7 separate regions of the Homo sapiens genome follow, and regions 1, 3, 4, 5, 6 and 7 are each linked to region 2. Evidence: promoter capture Hi-C in 16 types of primary human blood cells and fetal thymus (Javierre and others, 2016). All regions are on one chromosome and are shown on one strand. The core of a region is centred on a gene start or on the middle of the fragment in contact, and the rest is flanking DNA. Distances in the headings are between cores, read along the strand shown. Region 1 overlaps BROX (BRO1 domain and CAAX motif containing). Region 2 holds the start of WDR26 (WD repeat domain 26). Region 3 overlaps MIA3 (MIA SH3 domain ER export factor 3). Region 4 holds the start of MIR6741 (microRNA 6741). Region 5 overlaps H3-3A (H3.3 histone A). Region 6 has its middle 24 kb from the start of SDE2. Region 7 has its middle 8.9 kb from the start of LINC01703.

Region 1 (3,504 bases), core at 463-2,962, 1.7 Mb before region 2:
TTTTTTAATGTGACCCATTTGTTTTTAATCCAAAATTAAGCAATTTTTTTAATTAAAAAGACTTTTTTAAAGAATCAAACCTCTGTCATTATTTTGACAGATTCTATAATGTGTGCATTTCATAAATTTGGCATTTTTCCGACCATGCAACATTTTGATTCTGTGTAATAGTGAGCTAAAGCCGGGCACAGTGGCTCACGCCTGTAATCCCAACACTTTGGGAGACCGAGGCAGGCAGATCACTTGAGTTCAGGAGTTTGAGACCAGCCTGGCCAACGTGGTAAAACACTGTCTCTACTAAAAAATACAAAAATTAGCTACGTGTGGTGGAAGGTACCTATAATCCCAGCTACTTGGGAGGCTGAGACAGGAGAATCGCTTGAACCCAGGAAGCCAAGGTTGCAGTGAGCTGAGATGAAGCCACTGCACTCCAGCCTGGGCGACACACCGAGAGTCCATCTCAAAAAAATAAAAAAATTTAAAAGTGAGCTACTATTTAACCTTTTTTCAGCAGTTTTATGAGATAGTGAAGAATTATGTGATGAAGACTTTAATACTAAATATTCAGCACAAGTGAGACTTCTAAGTTACTTTATTCTTGATTGCTGCTTACTCAGTGGAAATCGTGTTGTGAGTTTATCTGTTCTGAAAAATATTTTTTCCATTATAGTTACTATGACTACTACTTTTATGTGGTGTCATAGAAATGGAGTGTTTGGAAACAAGGCATGTTAAATGAAGGATTATAAAGGAAAAGAGTTACTCATGAGACTTCACTAAATTAGCCAAACTGTTATATTATTTAAAAGTTATAAATTAGACATGTCCACTAGATCTCCAGATGTAATTCATTTGATAGTTTCAGTGCAGAAAATAATAAGCTATTAAACTATGTATTAAATTTTTTTCAGGAGGATAAAACTGTTTTGAGAAGTTTGTTCATAACTGTCATTTTTGGATGTTATAATCTATACTAAAGACAGTTTAGAAATTATTTTTTAATTACTACATATTTTATAACACTTTTTTTTTTTTTTTTCATTTAAAAAGTTGCCATATCTCCATTTATCTTAAGACAGGGGCAACAAGTAACTAAAAAATAAAAAGTAGAATGATAATTCTGGTTTCTTCTTTTTGGGTAGCTTTTCTGTTTCTTAGTATTACGTGTGTAAAATAAGGATATTCTGCTTTCTTCATCAGTTGAGATAAATGAGATCATGTGTAAAAAATTTTCAGGTTCTTCTAAGAACAATAGTGAATATATATTGTTATGAATATCTTATTTGCTTGATATGCTTTTGCCATCTTTATTTCATACTTCATAATAGAATCTGAAGGAAACAAGGTATAAAATATACTTGTGTTCAGGACCTTTTTCTGGAATACTGATTGGCTAGGCATTCAGAATCTTATACAGTTTGCCTTCAGCTTGCTTTTTGCCCTTCTTTTCCTTGATTTCTTTTTTACATACCTTCTGCTCCAGTCAAGCTCATTGGGTCACTTCTACCAGAAAATTTTTTATACTCCTCTTGGGCTTTGATGGCATTGTTTCCTCACCTGGGATGTCCTTTTGCTTCCCTTCTAGTCATCTTTCCAGGGACAGTTCAGATTTTATATATACCATTAAACCTTCTTAATTATTCTAGCCTGAAACAATCTCTCCTCTGAATTTGATTTTTCTAAAATGTTGTATAAGAGCCACACCTTTGAGAATCGACTGAGTACTTGTTAAAAATACGATTCTAAGCCCCATCCCAGGCTTTCCGACTCTGGGATTAAGGCCCAGAAATCTGTATTTTAAAAGCTGCTCTATGTGCAGTAAACTTTGGGAGCTCCTATTCCCATGCTTATTATTAAGTACATAGTACCTTCTGGACCATTATACTTAGCCATTTGTAGTTAATTACCTGTACATCTTATCTCCCCATCTATATTAAACACAACCATTTTCCTCATACATACCAGTTAGCATATACTTCTTTGTAATTTTGAGTCGGATATCCAGTAGGCTTCATGGTGTGATGTCTGGATAATTGACAGAACTTAATGATCATGTTTATAATTCCAGTGCCCAGCAGGATGCTGTTTTTGAATTAATTTCCATGGGATTTAATGTAGCTTTATGGTATACCAAATATGCTTCAAGACTGGCTGGAAAAGAAAAGTAAGTTAATAGGAGAGGATTGTGTACATCTGTGTTATTTTTCAAGTATGTGGCGCTTCATTATTTTAAAAATCTATTTTAAAAAGTACCACTTTGGATGTTTGAAGGATTGCCTTGTAATGTTAGTATTTTGAGTGTCAGAATTATGGCACCTAGCGTTAAGAGGTAAAATAAATTTTAATAGTCTTGTCATATGGAAGGTCTTGCTAAGTAAGACCCCAAATCAAGAACCCATAAAGTAAAAGCATGACTATTTAACTACATCAAAGGACCGTAAACAAAGTTAAAAAACAAATGACAAGATTGGTCAAAAACATTGCAATTCATATGATAAATTGTTTGTTTTTATAACGTATACTCTTATAAATCAGCAAAGGAAAGACCGTCAAATCAATTGAAAAGCAAAGGACATGAACAGGCAATTCACAGAAAACAAGTACAGAAGGCTAGCAGTATGTGAAAAGATGTTTTGCAGGATTAAATAATTATAAAAGGTGATACAATTTTTATAATAGCTATAGTGGATACAGCAATAGGAAACTGTCAATTTATGGTTCATCCATACGTGGGAATAATATGCAACCACTTGAAAATGATGTCAAATTGTATGTGCTGATGTAAAATTATCTCTAAAGTAAATTAGGTGATTAAAATAAGAGCAGAGTAATGATTATAGCTACCATTGTGTATCTATGTGTTTCTTAAGCATGTATATGCATTAAGTGTGTAATATTTTGTCTTGTTTATATACAAATGTCTGTAAGGAAAAATAAGGCTTTGTCTGGATTTTATTTTGTTTTGTTTTTTGTAAAGTTGAGTTCTCACTATGTTTCCTGGGCTGGTCTTGAACTCCTGGCTTCAGGTGATTCTCCTGCCTTGGCTTCCCAAAGTACTGGGATTACAGGCATGATCCACCATGCCTGGCTGCAGATTTTACACCTAGTTAGGGTCTCTTTTTTTTCATTTGTAGTATCTTCTTTTTGGAGACATATTGACATGCTTTTGCCATCTTAATGTTACCTTTATGTCATATACTTGTTTTCAAGACCTTTTTGTGGGATACTGATTGGCTTAGCATTCAAAATCCTTTACAGTTTTTACTAATTTCCTATAAACGTACATTTCATATGCATTTGCTCCTTTTCTAGGTGTCAAAATTAAATTTTTTTGGTGGCGGGGGGATGGAGTGCCGCTCTGTCGCCAGGCCAGGCTGGAGTGCAGTGGCATGATCTCGGCTCGCTGCAACTGCCACCTCCTGGGTTCAAGTGATTTTCGTGCCTCAGCCTCCCGAGTAGCTGGGATTACAGGTGCCTGCCACCATACCCAGCTAATTAGGGTTT
Region 2 (3,722 bases), core at 894-3,393:
AAAAAGTTCTGTTCTCCTCCCCACTCCCCAAGAAATCCATAAATGCAAAAGTACACATCGGCTAGCCTGAGAGCTTAATCTACACTCTGAATGTAGGAAACTGACTGCTGCTGCACGTCCTCCCCCCTTCATTTCATTCTGACTCCGTCTCTTGCACCTCCTTCATCAGGCACTCCCACCAATCCTACCTTCCACCCCCTTAGTTTTTCTTTGTGTGTATACAAAACGGTGGTTTTTGTCCAAGGTCGCTGTCTACCTTCACCCTATGTTAGGTATACAAGGCCACCTAAATTGTATTTGAAAACAAATGGTTCACCAGATCAGATGTCCCCTTTTCAGAGGCGATCATCTTCTTGGTATTAAACTGAGATTTCAGACTAGTTAGGGTTAGGCCTCTTGTACACACACACAAGGGCCTTTAAACGACATCAACACTGTATCTTCATTATTCGCATCAGATTTATTCAACAACCTCTTTCCAAATGATCCCAGCCCCTCCGTTCCCATAAACACTTGTAGGTGATTGTCTTTCCTGATTGGTAGTTTGCTTGGGTTGTTGTCTGCCACGGTTGGGGGTGGGGAGGTGTCCCACAAAGATGCCTCCAAGATACACTTGAAAAACAAATCCTCCAAGGTTCATTATTTCCACCAGCTCTAATCCACCCCTCCCCCAACACATACAGAAACACACTCCCGCATCTGTCTTTATTGACAGACAATTAAGCTCTGAAGGTGCGTGGGGAGAAGTCATTCTTTGGGTTTCTCCTAACCCTTCCTAACCCCTCAACGCCTGTCTCGTCTCACAATTTGTCAGACTGATTGATTTTCCCCTATTTCCTTTCAGGTCCGCTCCTCCTCCCCGGTCGCCCTGAGCCGCGTCCTCCTGTGTACTGGGTCCTGCGTGCCCAGCACTCATTCTCTTTGACCGAGCTCTTTCAAGCCCCCCTCCCCCCTCCGCCCCTTCCCCTACCCCCCTGGAGCCTCCGTCCCTCGGTCTGTCCATCACCAGCTGGCGGTAAGGGATACTTACTTGAGCCCTAAGCCATTCAAGTGCTGTCCTATTAGCCTAATGACATCCTCATCTGACTGGGAGAGCCGCTTCTTCTTCTTGAGGCTGCTGCCCAGTTCTGGGGTGGCCAAGGAAGAGGAGGCGGCGGTGGTGGCGGAGGCAGCTGCGACGGTGGCTGAGGATGCGGCGGCCGCCCCGCCGGGAACCCCGTTATTGACATTCAGGCTGTTGCTATTGTTGCTGGCGGCGGAGGGGGCGGAAGGCAGGAGCCCATTGGCGTGGGCCAGGTCCCCCGCGGACGACGACGACGAGGGGGACGACTCCCCGTTCTGGGCCGACAAGCAGGCGAGTTCCGGGGTCTGTCCCTGGCCCCCGCCGCCCCCTCCTCCTCCACCGCCGCCGCCGCCACCTCCTCCTCCTCCTCCTGCCCCATTGGCCTGCATGATGCTGCCGCTGACCAGGCTGTGGCCGCTACTTCGGTGGGGGACAGCAGCGGCGGCGGGAGGGGCAGCAGCCGGGGGAAGTCCCACCACTACCACCACGGAGGAGGAGGAGGAGGAGGAGGACGAGGACGACGAGGACGGAGGGGAGAGGCCTGCTCTGCCTGCCGAAGCCCCGGGCTCTCCTACTCCCTCCGCCGCCGAGGCTCGGGGTTTCTTCCGCGGGGGCGGGGAGGCTCCGCCGGTGTCCGAGTCGGAGGAGGAGGAAGCGGAGGCCAGAGTTTCCTCGCCGAGAGAGGCCGTGGTGGGAAGCCGGTGGGGCGAGGCGGGGGAGGGGAGGCGGGGGCCGGGGAGAGGGTCGGGGTGAGGGGGGCCGGGGAGGCGGGGAGGGGGTCAGGGTAGGAGGGTGAGGGTGAGGGTGAGAGGAGGGGGAGGAGGAGGAGGGGGAGAAGGAGGATCCGGGCCCTTTCCCCCCCCCCTCCCGGAGGCAGCTCGGGGTGCGCGGCCCGGGGGTCGCGCCGGGGGGCGCCGCGGGGCGGCTGCGGGGGCGCGGGGCCCGCCGCTGGGCTGAGCCCCGGCAGTGGCTGCGGCGGCGGCGGCGGCGGGCGGCAGCGGAGGCAGCTGCCGCCTCTGTCCTCGGATCCGCTCCGCTCTGCTCCCTGGTGTGTTGATTCTTCCCCCAGCTGCTGCCTAATGGAGTCCAGGCGCTCGCGTCACAGGAAATGCCTATACTGCCCTCCTCACTCACTTCCGGTGGCAGGTATGGAACCTATAGGGGGCCTGTCACCCAGCACGTGCATCGGGGGCTGTCCCGGGGGTCAGGGGAGGGAGGCCAGCGGGCCGGCGGGGTCCGCCCCGACCCCATCCACGACCCCGACTCCTATCCGATCCTATCCCCGGCCCCGCTCGGGCCTTTCCCCTTGCGCCCTGGCTCGGCTGGCTCGACGAGCAGTAAGTTCGTAGCCGCCCTCCGAAGCCGGGCGTGCATGGGATGGCAGAGTTGGCGTGCGTGCGTGAGTCCACCAGTGTGGCATGGGCATGTAAGGTGCGCGGAGGGACTGCACCTTCTCCATCAGGTGCAGAAGGTGAGGATGGGGCAGGGGGCTAGGAGCTTCGACAGGCAGGAACTTCCAGGCACAGGGCTGTGGTAGGCCCCTCTCAATGGTAACCAGGACCGAAATCGGGTTTCACAACCTACTTGTTTTAGGGTGGAAAAACTTGAATTTCCACAGCCAAGTGCCACACAGTTGCTGTACCCGGGGCCATCCCGGGAGCTGTGAGATAATGAGCCGGTGAGACTCTGCTCCACCCTGGGAAGGGGAGTTAGTCTAGAGGAGCATATCTTATGGGGACAAGAAGTCACAAAAAGGCTGTGTGGTGTGTAGAGAAGGGGAGGGACTCTGCTGTTGAGGCTTCACTCTTTTTTAGCACTTGCCCAGCACCTCCTTCTCTCTTCCAGCTGCCTCTTGAGTCACTGCCCAGTTTAGGGAGCAGTAACATAAACCAAACAGTTGCCTCCAAAATATGCATTCTGAGAAGGATTCAGGCACCCATTCAGATCCAGGCTTGAAATTTTTACGTGGCATGTGAGCCTTCTGTGTCATCATGACTTACCAATTTATGTGAATGTAGAAATGCAGCAACAAAGACTGGGCTGAATCTTAATCATTGGCAAATGGTGTGCATTATCCCCAAACAATTATTTTCATGTATGTGGTTGATAGCATCTATACTCAATATGTATAAAGATTTTCTCAGAAATTTAAAGTCTTTCTCTGAAGTAGTTTTCCTGTGGGGAGGGGAAAAAAAACACCTTAGTTTCTAATTAATACATCATACATCGCTGATATTTATTATAGTAATAACTGAAAGTAATTTTGAGGCCTTTGGAGACAGTTGTTTTTAAATTTGGAAATACAATAAAAAATGATGCTGATGAGAAATTAGTAAAGAATCCTGAGGTTTATGGATCCTCAGACAGGAAGAAGTAAGAGGAAGGTCAATGCAGGATCTTACAGGGATTTGGTTTTGTAGTTCTTACTGCTTAAATTTGCTTCCAGGTGGCAGCTGTAATTGCAAGGTGACTCACATACAGTGTTTATATTCACCTGAGGCCGACCTGAGTTCTAGTTGAGGTTCATAGAGCTCTGTCACTGTATCCAGCAGAGCCTGAATTACTAGATAGTTAACACCCTCAGAGAGCCCTGTTTGTATATTAACTTTAGACAACCTTATTATTAAAAGTGTTGTTTAGGCAAAATTTAATTTTTGCA
Region 3 (3,842 bases), core at 569-3,068, 1.8 Mb before region 2:
ACCCAAGCTGTCACAGGCGGGTGGATGAGTTCTAAGCAGAGTGGGTGCACTGATTGTCTGTGCAAAGGAGAAATGGAGTGTGTCAGATCCGAGGAAAGCAAGACGTTTCTATGCTGTTTAGGGAGGCAGGTGGGAGTGTGTTTGAGAAGGTTTCGTCACTCTTTTTTTTTTTTTTATTGAGTACTTACGAAGTGACAGCACTTTATGTTCTGGTGTGAAGTCATGATCAAAACACAGAGAACCTACAGGTCTTTTCTGCATAACCCCCGGCTCTGTTGTGGGATGGGACCAGTGTGATAGTGTACTTGTAAAGGGCTGTGGAAACAGCATAGAGCAGACAGGTGTTTAATGCACTGTTTTCAAGGAAACATTTAGAATTAAGGCACTAAATTCAAAGCGGTTTATCTAGATCAGTTATCAGGAGCTATCCGAACTTAGTCAGCATTTGTTCTTTGTTTATGTAAGTCGATTTAAGATTTTAAATCTTAGAGGAATAAAACGTTATTTGTGATATTCATTATCATCATATTGGTTTTATTTGCAGCCATAAAAAGTTAGTTACTTGTATATAAAAGGTTTTTTGTCTTATGTGGTTTTTTAAGCAATAAAAACCAATTTATTCAAGACAAAAGTATGATGCAGAGAGATTCCAGCCATGTTTTAGATAACATATTGTATCAGGGCCTATTGAAACTAGAAATATATGCCCAACCTAAAGACATTTAGAGTCATAGTACTTCAAAACACCACAGGCCAAACAATAAGTATGAGACTCCCAGTATCCTGTTTTTCTTAAAGCAGTGAGAGCTACTGAAGATTTTTGAGGGGATAGGTATCTGATAGAGTTGGTTTAGAATTTCTGTGAATGAGTCTTTGTGACTGCTTTATGGTAAGCTTCTTTAAGGTTTCTCATTATTTCTAACATTATTTCTAACATTCAGCTAGTTGCTACATTGCCTGATGATGTTCAGCCTGGGCCTGATTTTTATGGACTGCCATGGAAACCTGTATTTATCACTGCCTTCTTGGGAATTGCTTCGTTTGCCATTTTCTTATGGAGAACTGTCCTTGTTGTGAGTAAATTAATGCATACTTTAACTCATAAATTCAAGTATGGTTTTATAATCACAGTCCTTTTGTTTCTTTTTCAGTTTCTAATATGAACAGAAATTAATGCTTTTAATTCAAGCTAACCTTGTAAAATAATTTAGTATAATTTTTGTGTTGGTAAATTCTTAAGTGAATAAGACAACATGTATAATCTCAGTGGGAAAACTTCAGTTTATATGTCTCATATCAAAGTCTAAATTTTAAGAATTAGGTGGGTCTGTATTTCAACTCACAAAGGATGAAAAGAAAGAATTAGATAGGTCATATGTACACTGTTAGTAGAACTAGGAATTCTTAGAGCCATCCTGAAAAATAGTTTCATGATGTGTATGATAAGCCTTAAAAATGGTTATATCCTTTTATATTGTATTAATGTCATGTCTAGTAATCGATCCTAAAGAAATAACCAGTCAGCCGGCACAGTGGCTCACACCTGTAATCCCAGCACTTTGAGAGTCCGAGGCAGGCGGATCACTTGAGGCCAGGAGTTCGAGACCAGCTTAGCCAACATGATGAAACCCCATCTCTTCTAAAAATACGAAAATTAGCCAGGTGTTGTGGCACATGCCTGTAATCCCAGCTACTCGGGATGCTGAGGCAGAGAATCGCTTGAACCTGGGAGGCGGAGGCTGCAGTGAGCTGAGATGTGCCACTGCACTCCAGCCTGGGTGACAGAGTGAGACTCCATCTCAAAAAAAAAAAAAAAGAAAGAAAGAAATAACCAATCATGCATTAAATATCTTACATGGCCGGGCGTGGTGGCTCACACCTGTAATACCAGCACTTTGGGAGGCGGAGGCGGGTGGATCACATAAGGCCAGGAGTTTGAGACCAGCCTGACCAACAAGACAAAACCCCATCTCTACTAAAAATACAAAACTTAGCCGGGGGTGGTGGCAGGAGCCTGTAATCCCAGCTACTTGGGAGGCTGAGGCAGGAGAATCGCTTGAACTGGGGAAGCAGATCATGCCACTGCACTCCAGCCTAGGCGACAAAGTGAGACTCTGTCTCAAAAAAAAGTTTTAAATATCTTACATGAGAGCATTCAGTAGAACAGTATTTATTAGAGTGAAAACTTTGACACAACCTACTGTGATTCACAGTGGGAAAATTGTTAAATTATTGTATGTTCATATAATGGGATATTAGGCTGCTTTATATAATTCAAAGACATAGGAGCACAACAAATACTCACAATTTAACATGAAGTAGAAAAAAAGTAGAAACCAAGACTTTAAGGTATAGATAAACTGTATATTACATAAACATACACACAGAAAATAAATGCTGCAAGGAAATACAATAAAATGATAAAAATTCTTATATCTAGGAGATGAGGTAAGTTTTCAGTTTTTAAAAAATGTGTATTTTCCAGATTTTCTGATTTCATCATGTACTATTTTACTCAGAAAATATCTTTTTATTTCGAAATGCAAATTATATCATGTGTAAAGACACACCGTTAATTTTTTTATCTTCTGTGCAGAATTTGCCTTTCAGACTTAAACATGTTTGTATAAGTGTGTATACTCATACTTGTACATCCTTATGATTATACTATATAGCATTCAGCTGCATAGTTATTTAACATAATTGGGAGAAGATTATTTGTGTAAATGAGCTTTGCAGATGAAAAGCTTTGTATTGAAACTTCACAGTTAAAATGGCCAAAATTATTGGATGCAAATCTTTCTAAAACTGAGTACTCTTTTTCTGATTTCATAATTATATCACATATATCATCATTAATAAATTTTCTCTCACAATTGATTGTAAAATTACTTAAAAAGAAGGGTCTTTTTTCCTGTGAGGCCTTCTCTAACCTCCTGGTGCTTTTCTTCAGATAAAAAGGGAGAATCAAAGGGTAAATGGAAGGGGAAAAGTTGAAAACATTTTACATTTCCCACTCTTGTTTCTCCTATTTGTTAATAAAAAAATTCTAACGCCTTTTTCGTTTTTCAGAAAGTTATATAGGCTCTGTGTCCTAACTGCTGTTCCTCAGCCTCAGCACTTGACTTTTGGAACCTTGGTCTCTGCTTGCCTGTTAGTTTGGGTGAAATGGAGCAGAGGAATTAGCAAGGCCATGACATTAGAGAGATAGTAATTTCTTTCCATGTTGGAATTTTCTGAATGCATATTCCTATAACAATGGTATTATAAGTGAGATTTAGATACTGGAATTATTATGTATACAGTATATTAATTATTGTATACAGTAATACAGTATATTATGTAAACAGTATATTTACTGAGCTTATGGATGATTTGTGGACTGGTGTTAGTATCTCATCAACATAACATTTGAAAGGGAAAATATGTTCTGGGTTGCAAAGAAATTTAGTAATATTCTTTTTACAATATTAGTTACTGCTTAGATTTTCTTGTCCTATAATTTAGTGCTGTCTTTGGGGGATGATTTGGGTGCCCTTTCAGGAAGATGATAGTTGTCATTTCTCTTGTTGCTTATGCATTTTCCTCTAGTAGTCTTCTCTTCCCTGTCAGGTTTATGAGCACTGTTTTTAGTGGTCTAGGAAAATCACATAATCTAGCTTAGTATTTATAGCATTATTTTTAAATTCAGCCAGTAGTCAACTTTGAGTAGGATTTCTGAGATGTTTTCTGGAGAGCAAAAGAGGTGTGTATCTTAGTACGAAGATCATACCTTTAATTATGTTTCCTCAGAGTCTTTTTGAGTAGTCGTTGTTTTTAGATTTCTTTCTGGCTATTTGGAG
Region 4 (3,579 bases), core at 847-3,346, 1.5 Mb after region 2:
GAGAAAAGAACAGTTCTTCCTTCAGAGGGCAGCTGTGAGGATCAAATGCTCAGCACAGTGCCTGCCCCACATCAAAGCAGACGGCTTTCCCCTTTATTCTGGGCTGCTGACCCACAACCCATGCAGCCCACTTGGCTCTTCCCTGCCATTAGCTTTGGCTCATTCTAGAACAACACCTTGATCCAGACCAAGGGCCTGGCCCCTTATTCCTCTCATCCCTACTTCTAGCCCTTGGACAGTGCTCTCGCAGAGAAGCAGGGAGGACCTCACAAGGGCATCAAGTTCTCCAGGATGATTATTTAAGATTAAGCCTAACAAAAGCAAGATATTTAAAAATAAACTTTATTAAAGCAGTTAAACTTAGCATTAAATAACACTCTTTAAATGGTACACCTATGAAGCAAGAGTTAAATATAAACCCAGTCTAATCCTGTACACTTGTGATTAATTGTGACAATCTTAAGTTGCTCACTTCTTTCCCATTTACCAATTCAGAGAAAGCCCGTTTCCTGTTTTCTCCTCACCACTTTGCCTTGGCATCACACCAACCCTGCCTCGGGCTTCAGCTGCAGATCCTCCCCAGCCCCTCCTCCCAGCTGGGCTGACTCCAGTCCCAGCCCCAGTCTCCACCAACTGAGCAGCGTACGCAGGGTTGTGTCTGGCTTCCAGCATCTACCACCCCTTCAGAGCAACTTCCAACATGGGACAGGAGAGGAAGCTCGCATTGCTTGGTCTGAACAGATTTAAGGAGGTTTTATCACAAGGACCTGAAAACTTCCTAAGCATGCTTTCTCCTTGCACAGCTGAGGAGGGGCAATGGTGGGAGCGGGGCAGGGGGGTGGCAGGGGCGGCAGGGGCTCTCAACTAAGGGCTCTGAATCACAGAGGGGACAGATGCTGCCTTAGTCCTTCTTGCCTCCCAGGGCCAGGCTTCTTGTGAGGAGCTTCCCTGGGCTGGAGGGGGTCAGTGTGGAGACTGTGGGGGATTCCAGCTTCACTCTGTCTAAGAGGGTCTTCTTAAGGGCAGCTGGGGAGATCTTTTCTTGGTCGGCCATGGACTGTAGCTCTCTGCAGACAAAACCCCAGAAGGATTAAAGGAAGGCAATAAACCCTGGGGCCAGAGCTTTGAGTCTCCACTATCCACACAACCCTCAAGCTTGTTGATGTGACACCACCAAAAATTAGAGCCCCAAGACAAACGCTTCCCAACTAGTACTTCCCAACTAGTACTTCTAAGAAGTATTAGTTACCTAAGTTAGGGTTTGCTTATTTATCTCATTTGATCAGAGCCCCAAGTGGTATCTGTGATCACACGGGAAGAGTGACAGGCTTTGGAGTCATAGATTCAAATTAGAATCCTGTCTCCATCACTTTTTAACTGTTTGACCTTGGGAAAATTATCTCTGAGCCTCAACTTCCCATCTACAAGTCAAAGTTAATCCTGGTTATCTGAAATGCAGTGAGAATTAAGTGAAGTAAGGCTTGCAAACTCTTAGGTAAACAAAATCTACTAAGTTGTGGTTATTAACAGAGCACAGACTCCAACACTGCTAAATGGGACCCAAGACAGCAGGTTCCGCAAATGGTGCTCAACCCAGCCCAGGGACCAACCAGGACTGAAGGGTCTGGGACAGAAGTCCGCGGGATGGACTCACCGTGTTCGGATACAGGAGGCCTCAACTGCATTGATGAGCAGAGAGCGGAAGCCCCCACTCTCTAGAAAGTGCAGGGCGTGGATGGTGGCTCCCCCAGGGGAGCAGACATTGTCCTTAAGCTGGCATGGATGCTGCTCCGAGTCCAGCAGCATCTTGGCAGCTCCCTATGGGGAAGGGCACATTAGGAGAAAGTTGCTGGTGTGCGTTGGAACAGGCTTCCCATACCCACTGCTCCTGCCCAACTGCTACCCCAGCTTCCCAACCAACTCCCACCTCAGTTCAGTGATGCACAAGAACCCCCATTCTACACCCTGGTCCTGAACATGCGGGGGAAAGATACTGACCAGCAAAGCCTGGGCCCCGAGTTGGATTGCCAGGCGCCGTGGCAAACCCATCTTCACCCCACCATCAGCCAATGCGTCCAGAGCCATGAATGCCTGTGGAGACACTCACTAAGCCCCAGGCCATAGGCACTGAAGGGCCTTTCCTTAGGTCTGCTTTCTGATGACTAGAACTAGCTCCAAGGGTCAGCATCCTGTACCAGCCAGCTGTGCCCAAGAGGTGGGCGCCACCCCCAGTCCAAGCCTGCCTGCCAGCCCATCTTGCTGCCTGGGTTCCTAGAAGGCTGAGCGAGCAAATGAGGGCCTCACATAGGCAGGCCCGCTGCCACTGAGCCCCGTGACGGCATCGATGAGGTCCTCTTCCACCTCAGTGCAGAAGCCCACGCTGCTCATGAGCTGCTCCAGGAGCTGCCCATCCTCCACCAGGGCATGGGTGCCCGTGGCGTACACTGTAGCGCCTTCCTGCACTACCACAGGTGTGTTGGTCATGCAGCGAATCACTTTGGGGGCTGGCTGGAATGCCATCAGCTTCTAGGGTGAGGGAGAGAGCCGAATGAGTGGCCAGGGCACGGCTCCCACCAGCACCCACCCATTAGCTGCCATTCGTGGGTCAACCCTCCCCTCACACAAGGGGCATCAGGGCTGAGATGGGCACCTTCTCCACAGAGCTGATGGTGACACCAGCCGCACAGGAGACCACGATGTGTCTGGCTTGCACGTCGGCCCCAATCTCATCCAGGATGAAGGGGATGATATGTGGCTTCACAGCCAGAAACAGGACGTCGCTGTGCTTCACCGTCTCCTTGTTGCTGCGTGTCAGGTTCACACCCATCTTCTGCAAGAGGAGACTCCCAGCTCACAGTGCTGGAGCAGCCTGGCTATGCCAAGGCCTCCCAGGGAGCAGCTGAACCCCTGCCAAACCGATTCTGCCAGATGCAGCCTGGAATTCTTAGCTTTATGCCCTCAGGGTTCTACCCCTACCCCAAATAATACAGTTTCCCATTGTTGCTACTGGACAAGTAAGCACAGGCTTGGAGCATGACAAGCTTCTCCATGGTAACCAGGAAGTGGCTGCCCTTCTTCCCTGCCAATCTTCTGGTATCTAAGGCACTCCTCTGCCAGGTAAGAAGGCCCTATGGTGAAAGTGGCAGGGCAAAGGGAAATGCTAATACCTGGTCGTTAAAAGCACAGCTGAGTCAGGCCCTATCCTAACCCTGGCCGCTTGTTCGTGGGGACCGCACAGTCTCCATGTGGTCCAGGGCTAGGCTGGAAGCCATCCATCCCTCTATGACTCCAAACTGAGAAGCAGGACCCTCCAGTGCTAGGGACATCAGCCCACCCTAGGCACAGACACTGCCTGTCACCTGCCTCATCAGCCATCCTCTCCCACAGAGCACAGGTTTTGGGTGAAGACTTGGAATATGTTTTTGGAGAACAGAACAACTAACTCACCAGATTCTTCCCAATATGCTCATTCACGACTCAGAATAACAGCAAAGTGGCCACTGTTGTAAATGAGGAAATAGCCTCAAAGTGGCTGAGTACTTTAAGGTCATACAACTCGTCTATTAAGAAAAATGGCTG
Region 5 (3,774 bases), core at 1,232-3,731, 1.6 Mb after region 2:
GGACTACAGGCACATGCCACCACGCCCAGCTACTTTTTGTATTTTTAGTAGAGACAAGGTTTCTCCGTGTTGGTCAGTCTAGTCTCAAGCTCCTGACCTCGGGTGATCTGCCTGCCTCGGCCTCCCAAAGTGCTGGGATTACAGGCGTGAGCCACCACGGCACCTGGTCTGGAATTTTTTTTATTAGAATAAAAATGCAACTATAAGACTGTTTTCTCCCTTAATATATCTTCAGCAGAGAAATAACTTTTCCTTATAGAAAAGGAGAGAGAGCCAACTAACCTATCATTTCATGCTCCAGATCCAAAACTGTTGGATTTATGATTATTTTTTAAAATGGTAATTTCTCCATTTCAAAATGAGTAAGCAGGCCGGGCATGGCGGCTCACACCTGTAATCCCAGCACTTTGGGAGGCTGAGGTGGGCAGATCACCTGAAGTTAGGAGTTCAAGACCAGCCTGGCCAACATGGTGAAACCCCATCTCTACTAAAAATACAAAATTAGCTGGACGTGATGGTGCATGCCTGTAATCCCAGCTACTCGGGAGGCTGAGGCAGGAGAATTGCCTGAGCTCGGGAGGTGGAGGTTGCAGTGAGCCGAGGTTATACCACTGCACTCCAGCCAGGGCTACAGAGCAAGACTCAAACCTCAAAAAACAAAAACAAAAAGAGTAAGCAGATGTTTTGGCTTAGACTAAAAGATTCTTCAGCTTTTCAGACAGCTATAAGTATACTAAGAATTTGAGTTATGAGTTAATTCTAAGTGGAAACGCCCCTTTTTCCTCTTCACAAGTTAAGTGTCAATGAGTGATTCATACACTGTCATTTTTAAGTGGTAGTAGGAATAAGATAACTTGAAAGGATCTTACAGTCAAATGGGAAAAACCAGAGAAATCGATACTAGTACTAGAGGGCAACAAATGCTGTTACAAATTGGGGTACGTAGAGGAAGGTACTTGGTAGAGGACAGGGGCATGTTTCCGGGGCATAGATCAAAGTATATAAATAAGGAACTGCCAGGCCAGTTGCGGTGGCTCACTCCTGTAATCCCAGCACTTTGGGAGGCCGAGGCAGGAGGATCACGAGGTCAGGAGATCGAGACCATCCTAGCTAACACAATGAAGCCCCATCTCTACTGAAAATTAGTCAGGCGTGGTGGTGGGCGCCTGTAGCCCGAGCTACTCGGGAGGCTGAGGCAGGAGAATGACATGAACCTGGGAGGTGGAGCTTGCAGTGAGCTGAGATCTTGCCACTGCACTCCAGCCTGGGCAACAAAGAGAGACTCCGTCTCAAAATAAATAAATAAGGAACTGCCGGGCGCGGTGGCTCACGCCTATAATCCCAGCACTTTGGGAGGCCAAGGTGGGTGGATCACGAGGTCAGGAGTTCGAGACCAGCCTGACCAACATGGTGAAACCCCTTCTCTACTAAAAATACAAAAAAGTAGCCAGGCATGGTGGCGCATACCTGTAGTCCCAGCTACTCGGGAGGCTGAGGCAGGAGAATCGCTTGAATCCGGGAGGTGGAGGTTGCAGTGAGCCGAGATCGCGCTACTGCACTCCAGCCTGGGCGACAGAGTAAGACTCCATCTCAGAAAGAAAGAAAGAAATACGGAACTAACTTGTGATATGTTCTGGAATCAAAAGTACTCTTATGATAAAACAGGTATGAAAGGGAACATAGATGAGAAGCATGTGATAAAAACCACTTGTTCACCATGTTATACTACTGGACAAGGCAGAGGTTCACATACTGTGTGAATGGGATTCAGAGTGAGGAGGAGACTAGGCTGGGATGGGGTATTTGGATTGGACATGATTGCGTTTATAAGAATGAGAGTGTTAAATTGGATTTCTTGCTTTATTTGTGACATTTCAGTTTATTAGAAATCATGTTACCATTAGAAAAATTGAAGTTTCCTAGTAACAAAGTAATTTGATTTGTGTAACTTGATAAAAGATTTACTGACTTAAGCTTTTGTTTTTTTTCATAAGCTGCTTTTGAGCTTTGTCCCACAGGTTGTAAAATGTAAGCATTTGGTAAAATTGTCAGCATCTTGCCCAGTCATTTTTTTAAAGGGTTCAAAAACCTTTTTGTTTTAATTCGTATAGTTGGGTCTTAACTATTGGAAATAACATCATCAGTAATTTTTTCTTCATTCCTTTTGCAGGAGGCAAGTGAGGCCTATCTGGTTGGCCTTTTTGAAGACACCAACCTGTGTGCTATCCATGCCAAACGTGTAACAATTATGCCAAAAGACATCCAGCTAGCACGCCGCATACGTGGAGAACGTGCTTAAGAATCCACTATGATGGGAAACATTTCATTCTCAAAAAAAAAAAAAAAAATTTCTCTTCTTCCTGTTATTGGTAGTTCTGAACGTTAGATATTTTTTTTCCATGGGGTCAAAAGGTACCTAAGTATATGATTGCGAGTGGAAAAATAGGGGACAGAAATCAGGTATTGGCAGTTTTTCCATTTTCATTTGTGTGTGAATTTTTAATATAAATGCGGAGACGTAAAGCATTAATGCAAGTTAAAATGTTTCAGTGAACAAGTTTCAGCGGTTCAACTTTATAATAATTATAAATAAACCTGTTAAATTTTTCTGGACAATGCCAGCATTTGGATTTTTTTAAAACAAGTAAATTTCTTATTGATGGCAACTAAATGGTGTTTGTAGCATTTTTATCATACAGTAGATTCCATCCATTCACTATACTTTTCTAACTGAGTTGTCCTACATGCAAGTACATGTTTTTAATGTTGTCTGTCTTCTGTGCTGTTCCTGTAAGTTTGCTATTAAAATACATTAAACTATACCTGCTTTTGGTCTTTATTATAGCCTTGCCCTACAATTATATTCCAAATAATTTCAGTATTAAGTCCTTTAATAGTCACTTTATATCTGAGACGTGAGACTTATTGAGAGAGAAGGAAAGTATAGACTTGGTGGCAAAAGGAACTTGGCTTTATTTCTAATTTTTAGAAGCTTGCCACTACCCAGTGGTCTTAACTCTTTGGATGTGTTGTCTTCTGAACCAATAATTCGAAAAGCTAATCAACAGGATCACCTGGAAATAGTGGAATCTGTAAGTAGATTGAACTTTCATGAATGTTTAATAACAAATGAGAGTGTGTAACAGTCTTTAGCTCAAAAATTAATGCATTCAAGATCTGGCTATTTTAAGATGCTCTATTAGTTAACCCTGAATTTATTCAAGCACTAATAGTTAATTCTTAGCCCTGTTTTATTTAGTGTTGGTACAATTAATGTGAAATGAGGATAATTAAACCTTCTAAGACTTTTAACACATCCCATTAGTTGTAACGTTTGAGTGTTTGAAACTGCCCTAGAAGTGATACGAAATGTTAATAACTATGCCAAGAATAGACGCATGTCAGTAAGATACGACACTGGGCTTGCATTCTTACTGCTCTTAAACATTTAGCCATAACTTAATCTTTTGACTATAGGTGACTATAAAATTCTTTAATGGGAGAATTAATTACTTTAAGAGGCTGATTTTGTTAGCATGCATCCTAGTTTTCAGTATGATCTTTTGCATGTACTTCTACAGGGAAGTACGGGTAACACTTGGAACTTTCTCAATATAAGTTACTAAAAGCCAATTGTAGTTGAATGTTCTCTGTTCAATCCAGTTTTTCAGTGCAAAAGACCAAATGGCCTTTTCATGAAACACTTCAGAAGAAAAAGGTGTCTCCAGTAAGGGAGGAAGTTAATGTTACCTGCTGGAATCTGATAAAGACCAG
Region 6 (3,867 bases), core at 1,346-3,845, 1.6 Mb after region 2:
CAAGTCTATTGAGGAGATAAGGAGCATGAATACCCAGCCTGGGCAACATGGCAAAACGCTGTCTCTACAAAAAATACAAAAATTAGCCAGGCGTGGTGGTGCATGCCTGTGTCCCAGGCAGACTAAGGTTGGAGGATTGCTTGAACTCAGAAGGTCGAGCCTACAGTGAGCTGAGACTGTGCCGCTGCACTCCAGCCTGGGTGACAGAGCAAAACCCCATCTCAAAAAGCCAAAAAAAAAAAAAAGCACGAATATAAAAAAATATAAATTATTACATGATGGTATGACTAGTGTAAAGTGAGAAGTTTTCAGTGGGAAGGATCATCATGGATGCTGATAGCTTCACAGAGAAGGGGAGATTTGGACTGGACCTTTTGGTTACTCATTTTGTGTGTGTGTGTGTGTGTGTGTGTGTGTGTGAATGCAATGTATGCATTTCAGGAGGGGATGGTGGCAATGGGTAAAGGTACTGAGGTAGGAATATGTATGACTCACTTAGAGTACAAATATCCTGATATTGCTGGAGTCAGGGGAATAAAGGAAGAAAAGATTGAAAAGTTGGGTAAGTCAGAACCAAACAATGAGGAGGCTTAATTATCAAATTCTCAAGATTTTGACTCTCAGTATATTCCAGAATAAATTAAGATAAGAAACTGGCCCATAAGGACAGGTAAAGCTCATGCTTGACGTGAAATAGTAAAGGAATGGAATTGGCTGCAGAAAGAATGAAGAAGGATAGCTTAGAAGAGATGGTTTACCTAGAGAAGTAATTCTCACGGCGTGGTCCCTGGACTGGAGCATCAGCATCAACTAGGAACTTGTTGGAAATGCAAATTGCTGGGCCCCTGCAAGACTTATTATCAGAAACTCTGGGGCTGGACTCAGCGATCTGAGTTTTAAACAGCACACTCAAGTTTGAGAACTAGTGAACTAGATAAATAATCCTTTTAGCAGATAAACAGTGTAGCAGAATTCTCTCTATCCAATTTATGTTCTACATATGAAAAAACAAAACTGTTAAACCAATTATTTGAATCATTTTTAAAACTTTTTTTGTTGGCCGGGGGTGGTGATTCACGCCTGTAATCCCACCACTTTGAGAGGCTGAGGTGGTTGGATCACTTGAGCCAAGGAGTTCAAGACCAGCTTAGGTAACACAGCAAAACCACACCTCTACCCAAAATACAAAAATTAGCCAGTCTCATAACCTGGTCTCAAAATAAATAAACACATAGATTAAATTTTAAAATAAAATAAACAAACCCTTTTTATATAAACATTTTAAACCTACACAAAAGTAGACAGAACAATAAACCTTCATATACCCATCATCAGATTTAACAATTATCAAGATGTTGCCACGTTATCACTTTCTCTCTCTGTGATTTTTTGTTTTAATCCTAGAAATTATTTCAATTGCCCAGGCATGATGGCTCATGCCTGCAACCCTAGCACTTTGGGAGGCTAGTCAACATAGCGAGACCCCATGGTTAATAAATAAATAAATAAAATTTTTTAAAATTTCAATTCACCCATATATATTTCAGTATGTGTCTCTTAAAAATGTGCATATGTTCTTGTTTGACCATAATGTCAATTTCACACCTAACAGGATGAACAATACTTCCTATTTTCACCTAATACCCAAACTATAATCAAATATCTCTGATCATTAAAGTGCAGCCTATTTAATTCTATTGTACTTGGCTATTTTCTGTGATACACACTTAATAAAATTAGAGAATACTAAGATGGAAAAAACTTTAGAGATTTTTTTTCTTTGTAAAATGTCTTTTAAAAAGAATATTCCTGGCTGGACATGGTGGCTCATGCCTGTAATCCCGCACTTTGGGAGGCCAAGGCGGGTGGATCACTTGAGGTCAGGAGTTCGAGACCAGCCTGGCCAACATGCTGAAACCCCGTCTCTACTAAAAATACAAAAATTAGCCAGGCATGGTGGCCGGTGCCTGTAATCTCAGTTATCTGGGAGGCTGAGACAGGAGAATCAATAGAGCCCAGGAGGTGGAGGTTGCAGTGAGTGGAGATCGCACCATTGCACTCCAGGCTGGGCGACAGAGTGAGACTCTGTCTAAAAAAAAAAAAAAAAAAAAAAAAAAATCCTTTTAGACATAAACAAGTTTAGAAGTATCTGGATGGGGGAGGGGGTGTCCTTCTTTATTATCTATGGATTGGATATTATCTGTAACATGAGTTTCCATTTTGGATACTGTGACGTCGTCATGCTAGTTGTCAGAAAATGTAATTAATCAGATAAATCGTAGTTGTAAGTACATCTCCCTGCCACATGTCAATAGTTATCTGCCCCATTCTCTGTGTAGTCAGCAAAAAGTGTTAGGGAAATGTGTGGTGTTTCCTGACATTGCCTTGGAAATACCTGTTCTGTTATTATCCCAAAATGGGTATAGAAAATGTGGTAAAATGGGGCTGGGCACGGTGGCTCACGCCTGTAATCCTACCACTTTGGGAGGCCAAGGCAGGCCTTGAGGTCAGGAGTTCGAGACCAGCCTGTCCAACATGACGAAACCCCGTCTCTACTAAACATACAAAAAAATTAGCTGGGTGTGGTGACGGGCGCCTGTAATCCCAGCTACTCGGGACACTGAGGCAGGAGAATTGCTTGAACCCAGAAAGCAGAGATCGTGCCACTGCACTCCGGCCTGGGTGACAGAGCAAGACTCCATCTCAAAAAAAAAAAATAAGTAAAAATATAGTAAAATGTTCTCAGCACCTTAAAAATATTCTTAGCTCTGTTAATTTCCAGAGTCAGAAATAATAATAATGTACACATTTATATAGCACTCTTAAGCCTTTTATCCACATTTACTCATTTAGTTTGTTTAAAAAGCCATTAAGAATGTACTTACATGATGCAAAAACAACAGGATAAAAACAGACAAATGAAATCATAAGCTAGCTGACCAAATGTTTAGGTAGTAGGAAATGGTTTTTTAAACTTAATTCTTTCAGCAAGTAATTTTTTCTGACTTGGATAGATAGATAAATACTGTTATATATGACCTGTCATTTCTACAATGATAAACTTTGATATTTATAAAGTAAATAATTTTGGCCGGGCTCAGTGGCTCACGCCTGTAATCCCAGCACTTTGTGAGGCCGAGACGGGCGGATCACGAGTCAGGAGATCGAGACCATCCTTGCTAACACGGTGAAACCCCGTCTCTACTAAAAATGCAAAAAAATTAGCCAGGCGTGGTGGCGGACGCCCGTAGTCCCAGCTACTCAGGAGACTAAGGCAGGAGAATGGCGTGAACCCGGGAGGCGGAGCTTGCAGTGAGCCGAGATCCCGCCATTGCACTCCAGCCTGGGCGACTGAGCAAGACTCCGTCTCAAAAAAAAAAAAAAAGTAAATAATTTTATTAGTATATGCTCAAGACATGCACATAGTGTATGTGTACTTTATACTCTTGCAATTATACTTTGATTTAGAAGATATAACAAAATACAAATAGTAAATTTAGGGCAAAATTGAACTGTACTACCACTTAAAATGTGGTGCAAAGACTACGGATTTTAATTGATTGATTTTATTTTATTTTTTATTTTTTTGAGAAGGAGTGTCACTCTGTCGCCCAGGCTGGAGTGCAGTGGTGCTATCTCCACTCACTGCAACCTCCGCCTCCCAGGTTCAAGCAATTCTCCTGCCTCAGCCTCCCAAGTAGCTGGGATTACAGGTGCCCGCCACCACACACAGCCAAGTTTTTGTATTTTTAGTAGAGACAGAGTTTCACTATGTTGGCCAGGCTGGTTTCGAACTCCTGACTTCAAGTGATCCGCCTACCTCGGCCTCTCAAAGTGCTGGGATTACAGGTGTGAGCCACTGTGCCT
Region 7 (3,583 bases), core at 42-2,541, 1.7 Mb after region 2:
CACATGACAATGAGTGACACCATGTGATAGTGGCCCGAAGGCTCAATGATGCTGGCCATGCAACTCACTTACTTACCCTCCTCTGGCAACAGATTTTCTTTTCTTTTCTTGTTTTTTCTTTCTTTCTTTTTTTTTTTTTTTTGAGATGGAGTCTCGCTCTGTCATCCACGCTGGAGTGCAGTGGCACGATCTCAGCTCACTGCAACCTCTGCCTCCTGGGTTAAAGCGATTTTCCTGCTTCAGCTTCCTGGGTAGCTAGAACTACAGGTGCCCGCCACCACGCCAGACTAATGTTCGTATTTTTAGTAGAGACAGGGTTTTACCGTGTTGGCCAGGCTGGTCTCAAACTCCTGAGCTCAGGTGATCTGCCCACCTCAGCCTCCCAAAGTGCTGGGATTAAAGGCATGAGCCACCATGCCCGGCCTGGCAACAGATCTTCTACCCACAAGGAAGGGCATGTCCTCCAGGGCTGGATCCTTGAGGGACTCGTTCCCCAGGCCACAGTGACGGGCCAGAGATGGGCATGTGATCCCAGCAGGACCATTCAGAATTCTCCCTTAGAATTGATGCACAGAGGTAGGAAGAGAGGTTTTTCGGATTACTTCACTCCTTGGACTATTAAGCGGGGGTTGCCTCATGGAGGAACAGAGCCTGCTGGCAAAGATGAGCAGCAACAAAAGACGGACAGAGACTTAACTGTGTGGAGTCCCCTTTCAGGGTCCCTGCAGCTCTTCCTCCAACCCAAAGACCTAGTCCGAGGATCCTCTCCCATTACCAAGCCAGTAAATTTCCCTTTGAGTGGGATTTCTGTCACTTACAACCAACAGGCCTAACACAAGAGTGAACTGTAAGGGAGACCTCTAAGGCCAGCCACTTAATGCCATATCTCATCAAGATGCCCTTGATTGTAAAACATACCATCATTTTATGTACCATGAGGAAAGGGGAAAATGCTGTAAGTAAGCTATGACAAGCCACTGATTATGAGATGCATCCCAGTTTCAGAAGCATGAAAATATGGGAAAAATGTGCTTCCTAGGCCTGATGAAATATTGCAGCTGTGTGCCCTTGGGTGAGTTACTTAATCTCTATGTTCCTTGGTGTCCTCGTCTTTAAAGTGAGGATGACAATGCCCACCTGACAGGATTGTTGTGAGGATTTAGCCTATCTACACACAAATGTTCTTAGTAACATTATTCATAATAGCCAAAAATTGGAAACAAGGCTGGGCACAGTGGCTCATGTCTGTAATCCCAGCACTTTGGAAGGCCAAAGTGGGCAGATCCCTTGAGCCCAGGAGTTCAAGACCAGCCTGAGCAACATGGGAAAACCACCATCTCTACAAAAAATATAAAAAAGTCAGCCAGGCATGGTGGCACATGCCTGTAGTCCCAGCTACTTAGGAGGCTAAGGCAGGAGGATCACGTGAGTCCCGGAGGTTGAGGCTGCGTTGAGCCATGATCACATCACTGCACTCCAGCCTGGGCAATAGAATGAGATCCTGTCTCAAAAAAAAAAAGGAAACAACCTAACTGTCCATCAACTGGCGAATGGATAGAGAGAATGTGGTACATCCACACAATGAAATACTACTGAGCAATGATAAAGAACAAACTACTGATACATGCTATGCCATGGATAAGTCTTGCAAATGCTACGTGGAGAGAGAAGCCAGACCCAAAACAATGCATACTGTATGCTTCCATGTATTTATTTATTTATTTTATTTAGTGGGTTTTTTTTTCTTTTTTTGTGACAGAGTCTTGCTCTGTCACCCAGGCTGGAGTGCAGTGGTACAATCTCAGCTCAGTGCAACCTCTGCCTCCCGGGTTCAAGTGATTCTCCTACCTCAGACTCCTGAGTAGCTGGGATTACAAGCACGCGCCACCATGCCTGGCTAATTTTTTTGTATTTTTAGTAGAGATGGGGTTTCAACATGTTGCCCAGGCTGGTCTGGAACTCCTGACCTCAAGTGACCCACCCACCTCGGGCTCCCAAAGTGCTAGGAATACAGGTGTGAGCCACCGTGCCTGGCCTGTTATGATTCCATTTTATGAAATGTCCAGAAAAGACAAATTTAGAGACAGAAAATAGATTATGGAGCTGGGCACTGCAGCTCACACCTCTAATCTCAGGACTTTGGGAGGGTGAGGTGGGAGGATTGCTTGAGGCCAGGAGTTCAAGACCAGCCTGGGCAACATAGTGAGACCCCATCTCTGCAAAAAAGAAACTAGATTAAAGGTTGCCTGGAGAAGGGGGAGAATGGGGATTAACAGTAAATGGGACTGCAGTCTTTTATTGGAGTCATGGAAATGTTCTAAAATGGATTTATGGTGAGGGTTACACAACTTGGTAAATTTACTAACAATTCACTGAATTGTACACTTGAAATGAGTAAGTTATACAATATGTAAGATATACATCAATAGTGGTATTAAAAATAGATGTACAATGCCTAGATGAGCTGCTTAATATGGTGTGTGCTTAAGAAATCGTGACTCACTTCAGAGCTGCTCTGGCTTAGATTCCTAAATCCATAAAACTTCCCTTTCCTGGTCTCCTGAACGGGTGAGTTTTCTTTCCTTTTACATCCTGCACCAGGACCTCTGTGGAGGGTATCAAGAAGAAGCCCTGCTTCTAGAAATTATTAGTCAGTTAAGCTGTCAGGATCTTACAAGGAGACAGCAGAAGAGAGCGCCTCTGTCTACAGGGAGCAGAGGTAGGGGATTTCAGAAGGCTGGGAAACCTCGCCCTTCAGTTCATCCTCCACCCACCACCACCATCACACACACAAACTAGGAGCCTATTGACCTACCGCTTCCCAGATCTGTCCTGGGGTCAGGAAAAGGCCGCAGAATCATAAAGAAATGAAGCTGATTTCACTTCCTGGATCACCAGTTTTGTTCCCTCAGCACGACTCCCTGAGAGTCTTCTCTCCAGCCTAACCATGCACTTTTCCAAGCGTCGAGATGCTTAGAAACTTCCAAAAATACTTGACCACAGTGCCAGAAAGACATTTCTAATAAAACTTGCCAGCAAAGGGCTGGGAAGACCCCAAGTGTCTCTTGTCAGGGAAGCTTTATAGACTTAGCTCCTGGGAGCCAGCTGGGCCCTGGCTTGCTAGACCACCCTGCAAGGGCTTGGCCTCTCTCCCCAGCCCCTGCCAGGCCTGCTGGAAGTAGTGGCTGGAAAGAAATGGGGGCTTTGGGGTCAGGGAGCCTGTGTTCCAACTCCGGCTCCCCTTGCACTGGCTGTGTGGCTTTAGGCATGTGACTGAACCCCAAGAGCCACAGTTCATTCAGCAATAAAATGAGAGCTTCTGTCACCACTGCCTCTCCAGAGGCTGCTGTCGATTAATGGAATGTCATGGGTGATTGCATCGGGAATGGGGGGCGTCCAGTAAAGGCAGCTTCCTGCCCTAGGCTTCTTCCTGGTGCCCACTGGAACTGCAATTGGACCTGGCTGCCTCCGATTTACCGAGGCTCCATTTTATTTATTTATTTTTAAACTTATTTTAAAAGTAGAGATGGAGGCGGGTCTCCCTATGTTGCCCAGTCTGGTCTTGAACTCTTGGCCTCAAGCT

What was found. The method cuts DNA at HindIII sites, captures the fragments that hold promoters and counts their contacts. A CHiCAGO score of 5 or more calls a contact.
Region 1: a fragment that was not itself captured here is called in contact with the fragment with the promoter of WDR26 in region 2 in 1 of 17 cell types (neutrophils); the score reaches 5.6 in neutrophils.
Region 3: a fragment that was not itself captured here is called in contact with the fragment with the promoter of WDR26 in region 2 in 1 of 17 cell types (neutrophils); the score reaches 6.5 in neutrophils.
Region 4: a contact is called between a fragment that was not itself captured here and the fragment with the promoter of WDR26 in region 2, in 1 of 17 cell types (neutrophils). The highest score is 6.4, in neutrophils.
Region 5: a contact is called between a fragment that was not itself captured here and the fragment with the promoter of WDR26 in region 2, in 1 of 17 cell types (neutrophils). The highest score is 6.7, in neutrophils.
Region 6: a fragment that was not itself captured here is called in contact with the fragment with the promoter of WDR26 in region 2 in 1 of 17 cell types (neutrophils); the score reaches 7.9 in neutrophils.
Region 7: a contact is called between a fragment that was not itself captured here and the fragment with the promoter of WDR26 in region 2, in 1 of 17 cell types (neutrophils). The highest score is 6.8, in neutrophils.

Annotation. Positions count from the first base shown.
Region 1 is chr1:222,720,351-222,723,854 of GRCh38, forward strand. It overlaps BROX (BRO1 domain and CAAX motif containing), which reads left to right. Exons shown (of 13, transcript NM_144695.4): 5 at 2,069-2,164. Among named protein-coding and RNA genes, the nearest start is that of BROX, 9.5 kb to the left of the region's middle. The HindIII fragment of the contact is 6,451 bases long and covers 1-3,504 here.
Region 2 is chr1:224,432,654-224,436,375 of GRCh38, forward strand. WDR26 (WD repeat domain 26) reads right to left here and starts at 2,144. Exons shown (of 14, transcript NM_001379403.1): 1 at 1,031-2,144. The coding sequence starts at 1,752. It also overlaps a transcript of CNIH3 not described here. RefSeq lists a silencer at 2,123-2,522 and an enhancer at 2,863-3,052. The HindIII fragment of the contact is 13,558 bases long and covers 1-3,722 here.
Region 3 is chr1:222,644,613-222,648,454 of GRCh38, forward strand. MIA3 (MIA SH3 domain ER export factor 3) reads left to right here. Exons shown (of 28, transcript NM_198551.4): 7 at 942-1,073. Among named protein-coding and RNA genes, the nearest start is that of MIA3, 28 kb to the left of the region's middle. RefSeq lists enhancers at 1-444, 45-124. The HindIII fragment of the contact is 1,853 bases long and covers 893-2,745 here.
Region 4 is chr1:225,919,554-225,923,132 of GRCh38, forward strand. PYCR2 (pyrroline-5-carboxylate reductase 2) reads right to left here. Exons shown (of 7, transcript NM_013328.4): 3 at 2,651-2,830; 4 at 2,305-2,526; 5 at 1,999-2,091; 6 at 1,655-1,818; 7 at 325-1,067. The coding sequence ends at 902. MIR6741 (microRNA 6741) reads right to left here and starts at 2,589; the gene lies at 2,527-2,589. The HindIII fragment of the contact is 1,886 bases long and covers 1,154-3,039 here.
Region 5 is chr1:226,069,181-226,072,954 of GRCh38, forward strand. It overlaps H3-3A (H3.3 histone A), which reads left to right. Exons shown (of 4, transcript NM_002107.7): 4 at 2,171-2,839. The coding sequence ends at 2,299. Among named protein-coding and RNA genes, the nearest start is that of H3-3A, 8.4 kb to the left of the region's middle. The HindIII fragment of the contact is 1,018 bases long and covers 1,973-2,990 here.
Region 6 is chr1:226,021,626-226,025,492 of GRCh38, forward strand. No RefSeq gene overlaps it. Among named protein-coding and RNA genes, the nearest start is that of SDE2, 24 kb to the left of the region's middle. The HindIII fragment of the contact is 8,184 bases long and covers 1-3,867 here.
Region 7 is chr1:226,090,649-226,094,231 of GRCh38, forward strand. No RefSeq gene overlaps it. Among named protein-coding and RNA genes, the nearest start is that of LINC01703, 8.9 kb to the left of the region's middle. The HindIII fragment of the contact is 3,567 bases long and covers 1-3,075 here.